Linked DNA regions of Homo sapiens: region 2 is linked to region 1. Evidence: promoter capture Hi-C in 16 types of primary human blood cells and fetal thymus (Javierre and others, 2016). All regions are on one chromosome and are shown on one strand. The core of a region is centred on a gene start or on the middle of the fragment in contact, and the rest is flanking DNA. Distances in the headings are between cores, read along the strand shown.

What was found. The method cuts DNA at HindIII sites, captures the fragments that hold promoters and counts their contacts. A CHiCAGO score of 5 or more calls a contact.
Region 2: a fragment that was not itself captured here is called in contact with the fragment with the promoter of LSM8 in region 1 in 2 of 17 cell types (naive CD4 T cells and activated CD4 T cells); the score reaches 7.3 in naive CD4 T cells.

Annotation. Positions count from the first base shown.
Region 1 is chr7:118,182,180-118,186,402 of GRCh38, reverse strand. LSM8 (LSM8 homolog, U6 small nuclear RNA associated) reads right to left here and starts at 2,239. Exons shown (of 4, transcript NM_016200.5): 1 at 2,149-2,239; 2 at 709-749. The coding sequence starts at 2,179. It overlaps LOC105375470 (a long non-coding RNA gene), which reads left to right and starts at 2,435. Exons shown (of 4, transcript XR_927904.3): 1 at 2,435-2,488. The HindIII fragment of the contact is 4,305 bases long and covers 1,163-4,223 here.
Region 2 is chr7:112,935,021-112,939,243 of GRCh38, reverse strand. The region is part of intron 1 of SAMTOR (S-adenosylmethionine sensor upstream of mTORC1); the gene reads left to right. Among named protein-coding and RNA genes, the nearest start is that of SAMTOR, 2.7 kb to the left of the region's middle. The HindIII fragment of the contact is 3,237 bases long and covers 886-4,122 here.

The DNA of each region.
Region 1 (4,223 bases), core at 990-3,489:
GTTAGAAAATAGAGAAAGTTCAGTAGCCTTAAAATTCTTTTGAAAGCATTCAAAGTATGAATTGTAAGTGAAGAAATAACCAAGTACCCAAAAATCTTGAGATGAATTCCTCAGATCAAATTCCAAATACAAGTATCACTATAGGAACGTTTTATCTTAGTTATATGACATAAATTAGCAAGGGAGAAACAACTTCAAGGAACAAGCCAATTTTACATATATATGTGTATATATAGAGAGTCAATCATCATAATGTGTCCTACAGAAGACATGTCACACAACCTAAAAACAAAGAATATTAAGATTGTATACAAGCCTTAAATGTTATCTAGATATTAATAGTATCTAAATCATTAAAAAGTTACTAAGCATATGCAAAATTTCAAAAAAATTCTGATTCATGTGGTGCTGAATGGGGAAGGAAATAAAAATGGAAGAAGAAAAGTAAGTTTAATAAAGGTCTACAGACTAGGAGCTCTCTGAGGGCAGAATCTATTATTCTAGCTCCGAGAAACCTTGTAGGTAACACACAATGTTTATTAGTGAGGAAAACATGGATTGACAGCAAAGTGATAAAGAGCTGAATTATAATAAAATTGCACTACGGGTGTAATGTGCTGTCTAGGCATTAGAGATTAGAGGTTTCACATAAAACTTGCAACCAATAAACCTACAGGAAAGCAGAGAATGAAAATTCCAAAGACTTACCACAATCATTCTCCCATCTGATGTAATAACGGCAACAGTTCCTGATAACTGAATCAAAGAAAGTGTTTCTTAGGGAATGCAAATTGAAAACAGACTCTGGCAAGGGAATGATTTGAATTTTTAGAATAAATATGACAACTAGGTATAAGTATTCAACACAGCCACTAAGTTCACTACATAAAAACGTTAAAAGTTTCTTAGACGCCAAGGCAGGAGGATCACTTGAGGTGAGACCAGCTTGGGCAACACAGCGATACCCCCATCTCTATTACCCTGGCCTGGTGACCTATAGTCCCAGCTACTCAGGAGGCAGAGGCAGAGGCAGGAGGATTGCTTGGGCTCAGGAGTTCAAGGTTGCATTGAGCCATGATCAAGCCACTGCACTCCAGCCTGGGCAACAGAGTGAGACCCTCGACTCAAAAAAAGAAAAAAAAAAAAAAACTTAAAAAAAGCTTCTGTTTTTGTCTTTGTGATAATTACATGATTAAAAAAGGGAAAAAATAGAAAAAGAAAACCTCTTTCTGTATGTGATCGGTGTATCTTATCTCAAAATATCCTGGATTTTTGACACTTTTCTACTAGGAAGGTTACCAATCTATTATTTCAGGCAGGATATTTCGTTTCTTAGGCCTGTTTATTTCTAAAATGAAAAGTGGATGAGTACTAAATTAATCGATGTTGGACGATTTTCCAGCATGTTAAAAAACTGTCTTCCAGGACAGGCTTCTGTAATTCAAAAGTAAAGAAACTATATAAGCAGTGTCACAGGGTACCAATAACGCATCATTAAAAGCATTCGGTATTTAATTTTTGTCACCCAGTTTGTACCTGAGCTTAACGTAGTGTTTTTGTCCTAAGACTTTAAAACGGTAACACTTGTAAAGTCTATTTTAAGACTTCCCATGGGGTTGTTACTTGCTCCTCACTATAATCCATTACAACAGCAACCATTTTTTTTCATTCTACCAACAAGTTGGGACTTCAAGTGGTAAAGGGACAGAAACAGTCTGTGAACCATCGTTAAACTTTTTGCTATCCTCGAACGAGCAAATTATGTGAATAAAACAAGTACAAAGATTTGCAAAACTGTTGTCGCCGCCAGGACGACTGTTCATCTTATTCACAAACTTTAACACTTATGCCATAGGGAAATAGTAAGTAAGAATCAAGAGCGTACATTTTTTTTAAGACAGAAAAGTTCGGAATAATCACACTGGGTTTTTATTTGGGTTTTGCAGGCAAAATGGAAAGGACCCCTGGGCCCGCAGCAGCGGGAAGGCTCGAGGCGCCGCCGGCGAACTCTGGGTCGTTCCGGGGCCCTCATCTCCTCGCCCGCCCCCAGGATCCCGCCGAGGCCAGGCCTCCCAACCTCCCACCGATCCCCGACCGCGGCCTCTCCGCGACCCCGGCTCACGCCCGCGGCGGCCAGCTTGAGGATACGGTTGATGTAGTTCTCCAAAGCGGACGTCATGCTGTTCGGCCCGGCGGTTCCGGGTAACGCAGCGGTGCCGACAGCAAGCAGAACTGAAAGGGCGCGCCAGAACCCGGCAGCGGATAGCGCCTGCGGGTCGCAGCAAATATCGTGAGAGTTGCTGCTCCGCAGCCCTGTGAGTCGGAAATTGGGACGAACTGGCCAACCAAACAGAAGCCGCACAGCGGTGACGAGAGAGTGCGCGTGCGCAGTGTGTTTTCTCTGTAATTCTGGGCCGTGTTCCGGAAGCCTCGTAAGACAAAAGCGAACGAGAGGCGGAAAAAAGGAAGACGCTTCCTGAAGTTGGGGGTATGAGACAGAAGTTGGGGGTATGAGACAGAAGTTGGGGGAGAGTGGGTTTCCAATCCGAGTAAAAGGCAGTGTGGTGGAAGTTAACAAGAGAAAATGTTGAGACGAGGTAGAGCAGGCAGGAATAAACGAAGTAAGGTGTTTTTATTAGGAGTGAAGGAGAGAGACGAGTGCTGTTGTGTGAAACGTAGGTGCGGGTAGTTGAATCCCTAGTTTTCTGCAGCAGAAGCCGAAAATAACGCTAAAAATAAGTTCAGTTGCCCGGGACAGAGTTGCGCACGTTATAACCACACGGTGTACGCCTCTTAAGAACTCAGCAGTGAAATACACTTTCGTATGTTCTGCTTTTGTCTCTAAAAGTGTTCCAAAATGGAGGTGTTTTTACTTTTTAAAGAAACTAAATGCAAATAGGCAAAGGTGTGTGACCATCCCTTAGAAAACGAATGTCCACGCTTCTGCCACGCCAGGATGGTCTACCTTTCTTCAGGGTGAAATTAGTAAGTAAAAGGCTGCTGCAGCACCGAGAAAGGACCGATGCAGGAAGGATGCAGGAAGGCACCAAACTTGGTTCTAATCTTGGCTCTGCTAACAAATTGGTGTCATTGCACAGGTCACTTCAATTCTTCTGGGCCTCAGTTTCGTTAGATAGTCCCATAGGTATCATTTCAGATATTTCCCAATGCGATACTGTTCCCACTTCATTTACTGTTGCCCTAACTTGAGAGAGCTTGAAGTTAGAAAGAGATTTATACACAAAACACCAGCAGGAGCGATTTCCCTTTTTTGCAAAATATCTTTATAATTTCAGTTAAACATGTATTTTCTTAAGATTTGTGGCTTTGTAATAACTCTTGCAATGTCAGCAGTTTTCCTCGGAAAAGGAAGCATTTCTTAATTAGAGCATACCCACAAGATACTCCCAAATAGTTAATATTTTATATTCTGGAACTTATTCCTATCTGTTTGAAATCAAATGTAGTCAGGAATTAGATTGTGAATGTCTCATATTCTCAGGGTAACAAATGAAAGTGTCTTCCGCTAATGAAAGAACAAAGATAATTGTGTGATTTGCAAATGTTAGGTGTTGAACCAAAACCCAAAGACTAATTAATGATTAACGAGGTGTTAGGAGTTTTGTTAAAAAAAGAAATTGCTGGGCATGTTGGTGGGTTCCTGTAACCCCAGCTACTCTGGAGGGTGAGGCAGGAGAATTGCTTCAACCCGGGAGGCGGAGGTTACAGTGAGCTGAGATCACGCCATTCCACTCCAGCCTGGGCGACAAAAGCGAAACTCCATTTCAAAAACAAACAAACAAAAAAACCTCTGTGTGATCTTATAAAAATGAGGCCGGGTGCAGTTGCTAACATCTGTAATCCCAGCACTTTGGGAGGCCAAAGCGGGTGGATCACAAGGTCAAGAGATCAACACCATCCTGGCCAACGTGGTGAAACCCCCTCTCTACTAAAATACAAAGATTAGCCAGCATGGTGGCGGGCACCTGTAGTCCCATATACCAGGGAGGCAGAGGCAGGAGAACCACTAGAACCTGGGAGGTGAAGTTTGCGGTGAGCGAAGATTGTGCCACTGCATTCCAGCCTGGGCGACAGAGCGATACTCCATCTCAAAAAAAAAAAAAAAAAATGAATACTCCCTATGGCTTTTCATCCCTTAGAGTGTGCTTTTGTAAGTCTATTGCCCTGTGTAGTTGTCATTAAATTAATATGCCAGATAAATA
Region 2 (4,223 bases), core at 1,255-3,754, 5.2 Mb after region 1:
AGACGCCGAGGTAAAACAAGACAGGTAAAATCCATTTGTAAAAGACGAAAAGAAACCTGAGTTGTCCCTCCTTTACGCTTGACCTACCGGCTGTACCATTTGCTTCCTTATCAGACCCCCTTCCTAGTACTTCATTCCTACAACCATGCCGAGCCTTCCTCGCATTGGCTTCCAGGGCTGGGAAGCCAGCAGGCCTTTTAGCTGACTGGACTTCACATTGTTAAAAGGGGGCGGGCTACACTCGTGGCCCCCACTCCCATTTCTTAAATACTTGGTCTTAACTGTTTATTTAGGCGATGAGGAAGAGATCTGGGCAGGTTCTGAAAATACCGTTTGTATTGGAAGCCTCCTAAAGACACCTGCCGATAAAGCCCACCCTCGGCTTCCATGGATGGGGTTCCGGTGAGAACCCCCTCTGTGGAAGCTCATAGGGGAAGAAGCCTTAGTGGCTTTTGCCTGTGCCTGAAGAGTGTTTATAGTTGGAGTCTACAGTTATCCTTGATATCTTTAAATATAGGCTTTTGTACACAGCTGTTTTATAAGATTTTGACAGTGAAAATTCTGTTTTCATAGGCTTGGGAGAGAGACTTCTCCTGAGTATCGAAATGAGGAAAGCTTTCCACTGGTTCTCATTTTAGCTTAATTGCAAACTGAAAAGTCAGCAGCCTTCTGGTGTTAGTCCTATACTTAGTTAATAATTTAGGATTAGAAGGAAAATTATGGCAGTGAAGGAATACAGACAGGTAAGATCATGTTACTGTTGATTTATACACACGTTTCAACTACTCTAGAAAGTTAAAACTAAGTATCCTTTGTTCTTTTGAATGTAGTTGATATGTTTCATTTTTCAAACTTTAAAGGTTTCTTTCCTTAGCAAATCAAGCTTAGCTTTTAATAGAGGCTGTTTAATCATCCCCAAATGGGGCTTGTAGTTATTGTTTAACAGATAGCAATAGAAAGAGTCTTATCAGACCTACTTAGGATGGTAAAATATGTTTTTTGAAAGAATGCTACCCAAACCCACAATTTAGTCAATAAAATGAGTAGTTACCATAGCAACAACTGCATCATTCTTGATATTCAAAGAATGCTCTTACATAATGGAATTCACTGTAGATTTTATGTTATTTGGAGAGATTAGGAAATAAATGGACACATTTTCCTGCAATTTATCCTGCTATTTTGTACAAATTTAAGTGCATCTTTCTAAAGAGAAAAATGACTAGCATAGAATTCCATTTCTATTTTTACCTTTTAATAATTTCATTATTCATTTATTCATAAATGAATAGGTTCCACTCAAATTAACACACTAATGTGGCATCTCTTCAAGTGCTGTTTATATGTGCTTAGTTCCCACATGTTTAACCATGTTTTAAGCCTGAGTATTAACCACAGGAACTCTTGTTTATGAGAATCGGAAGTTACCAGATCTAGAATAGATACATGGAGTTCATAAGTGAATGATCTAGTATGCTTCTGGGGAGTTAAAGTCCTGGCAGTTTAAACATTTGAATGAGACTATTCTTTAGGCGCTTTAATACCCTGAATTTCACCGGTGATCTAGACTTCTCTAGGCTTTGCTTGAATGATATACAAAGCCCCATCAGTGAATTAGCAGAATAAGTGATCCTAATGAGCATGCTCCTTCTACCTTTATTTCTGACATATAGGCTAAATATTAGTAGTAAAAAAGTCATCTGTGAAAAACTCTGTGCACATAATAATACTAAGGAAATAATTTTTAGTGTTTTACTTTGAGGACTTAGTATTGTGCTGATGGTCCCCAGTCTGTAAACATATTTTACAAGTTCATTTGCAAGTCAGCTGTTATTGTAATCTGAAGATTGCTTAAGTGCTAGATCAGTCTGCAAAGGCCCATTGAATCAATAACATACCTGAACTATAGCACCAATAACTATGGAAACTGTACCCCTTTTATCACAATTCTTCTACCAGCAAATGCAGTGAAAATTCCAGCTTAGGATCTTGGAGTTTTAGACTAGAAGGAACCTCTTAGCATTTAGCAGTGATTCCCAAACATGGCTGATCAGCAGATTCAACTGGGTGCCTCTTAGACAATTCCTGTATTCTACCTCAGATCTATAGTTTAAGATCCCTATTATTAGGAACTGGAAATTGTCAGCCAGATATTAGAGTGGTGATCTAATAGCTTCTTCATTTTACAGATAAGTGAGCGGAGTCCTAAAAATATTAAAATAACTTTCTTGATGCTTTGGTAGTTCATTATTAATACTATACATATTTTATGGGAATAATATAGGTTCCCCACCCCCAACTCCAAACCTAATATTAGTGACTCCAAATGTTAGAATAGGAGGGAAAATGAGAAGCAGGAAGTGGCCCTAGAATTTCCATTAGGTGAAAAGTTATAAATTGATGGGAATGGATGATCCATAGGATAGGTATGATTAGCTGAGTTGGGGCTATACAAGGTGAGGGTTTTTTGGGGAGAGATGGCAGGGAAGGAAATAAGTTAGGGTAGAATAAGGAGGCAAAACAGCCATTGAATATTAAGGACAGGATAGATAGTGACTGGGAGGTTGGAGAACAGAGCCTTCTTTTCCCTTATCTCTATTAGTGGAATTGAAAATAAAACAGGAAAAACAATGAAAATAAGTTGTGTTGTTCTTTTTTGCTGTGATAAGAAAAGATTTTTTTCCACTCTTCTCCAACCATTTGCCCAACTGATGCTAGTTGATGGTGATGAACAGGCTTGGGGTGGGGAAGGGTGAACAGGGTTGTAAAGAGTAGCAGGTAGGCTTAATGCACTCTTTTCGTTTACCACTTTTTCCTTCCCCAGTTTATGGCCTGCCTTGTTTCACCACTTAAGAGATGCTGTGCCAATTTGTCTAAAGGTAAAGTGAGAACTGGAGATAAAGGTGTGTTCCAGGCAGCACTCGTATCTGAAGCAGTTACTAAAAAGAAATGGTAGGGAGATGCCTAGCAGTGGTGATGCGAAGGGGTATTTCTGGTGTCTGCCATTGATAGTTAAGAGACAGTCTTTTAAAGTGAGGTTATATTCATAAGATATTCATAAGATAGGTTTTTCACTATCTAGTGAATAGATCCATATTTATAAATGGAAATATGCTTGCACATATAGGTGTTTTCTGTCTTTGCATACATAATTTTTAAAATTTGACCTCCATGTAAACCAAAAATATTTTAAATGTATAAGAGTTATAGACAGCTTTTTAATTAAAAAAACTAGTTTCGCTTTTCAAACAGGGACTTCATTATTTAATTAGATGAGCCTGACAAATATGTATCAAATCAAGAACTGAAGTAGAGCCATGTGTGTTTTTGGTTGTCTTTGTATGATTTTTTTTTTCCATAATCGTATTCACATGAACCCATTCCTGTAATGATTGCTTTTATGCCTGGCATTTCTCTTTCTAAACTTAAAGCGTTTATGTAAAAATTCCAAGAAAATGTAAAAGGCTGCAGTTGTCAGGAGTAAAAGTACACTTTTCATTCCATTTCGTTTTTATTTTTTTAACCTATCTTATGAATATCTTTGGGACATTTTATCAAATTATTCAATCCCTGAATTTACTTGTTCTGCATACCAAACAGATTTAAAACAGTTTATCACATAAACACCTGCAGCTTATAAATCAATCACAAAAAAAAGTAAAAGTATGTACTAAACTGTTAAAAGAGGTATTCTTAAAGTCATGGAATTAGGGGGTGATCTTAACAGGTGAATTAGCATGGCAGTGTAGGATAAGCTGAAAAATATATTTGTGATTGACTATTCTTCAGCAAACACTTAAAATGAGAATTGTGGGGGAAGGGGAAAAACTTTTGTATTAAAATAATTTTAAACCAAAAAGGCTAAAAATAAGAGAATGAATGTGATGTTGGTGTTTTTCCAGAAACAAAGTTTTGAAGTTGTTTTAAAAATTAGAATGAGACTCCTTTTAATTGAACTTTTCTTATTTTTTTTCCTCAGTGGGCTTTAAACACAGCTGCTTTAAAATTTTGACCAAGTCCAAGACCTTAAGAAACTTTGAACAGATTCTTTTCTCAAGTGAGGTTTTGCTGTTTTCTTTTTGTGTTCTTCTTATACTTATTCTGATATAGAATCAGAAAGCTTTTTGTGATAGAATATTTGCCTGATCATTGAAATAAATAAGGTGAAGGTTGTCACAGAAGGTCCTGTTAAGTTTGCACTAGGAGAGTTTGAACTGCCATTC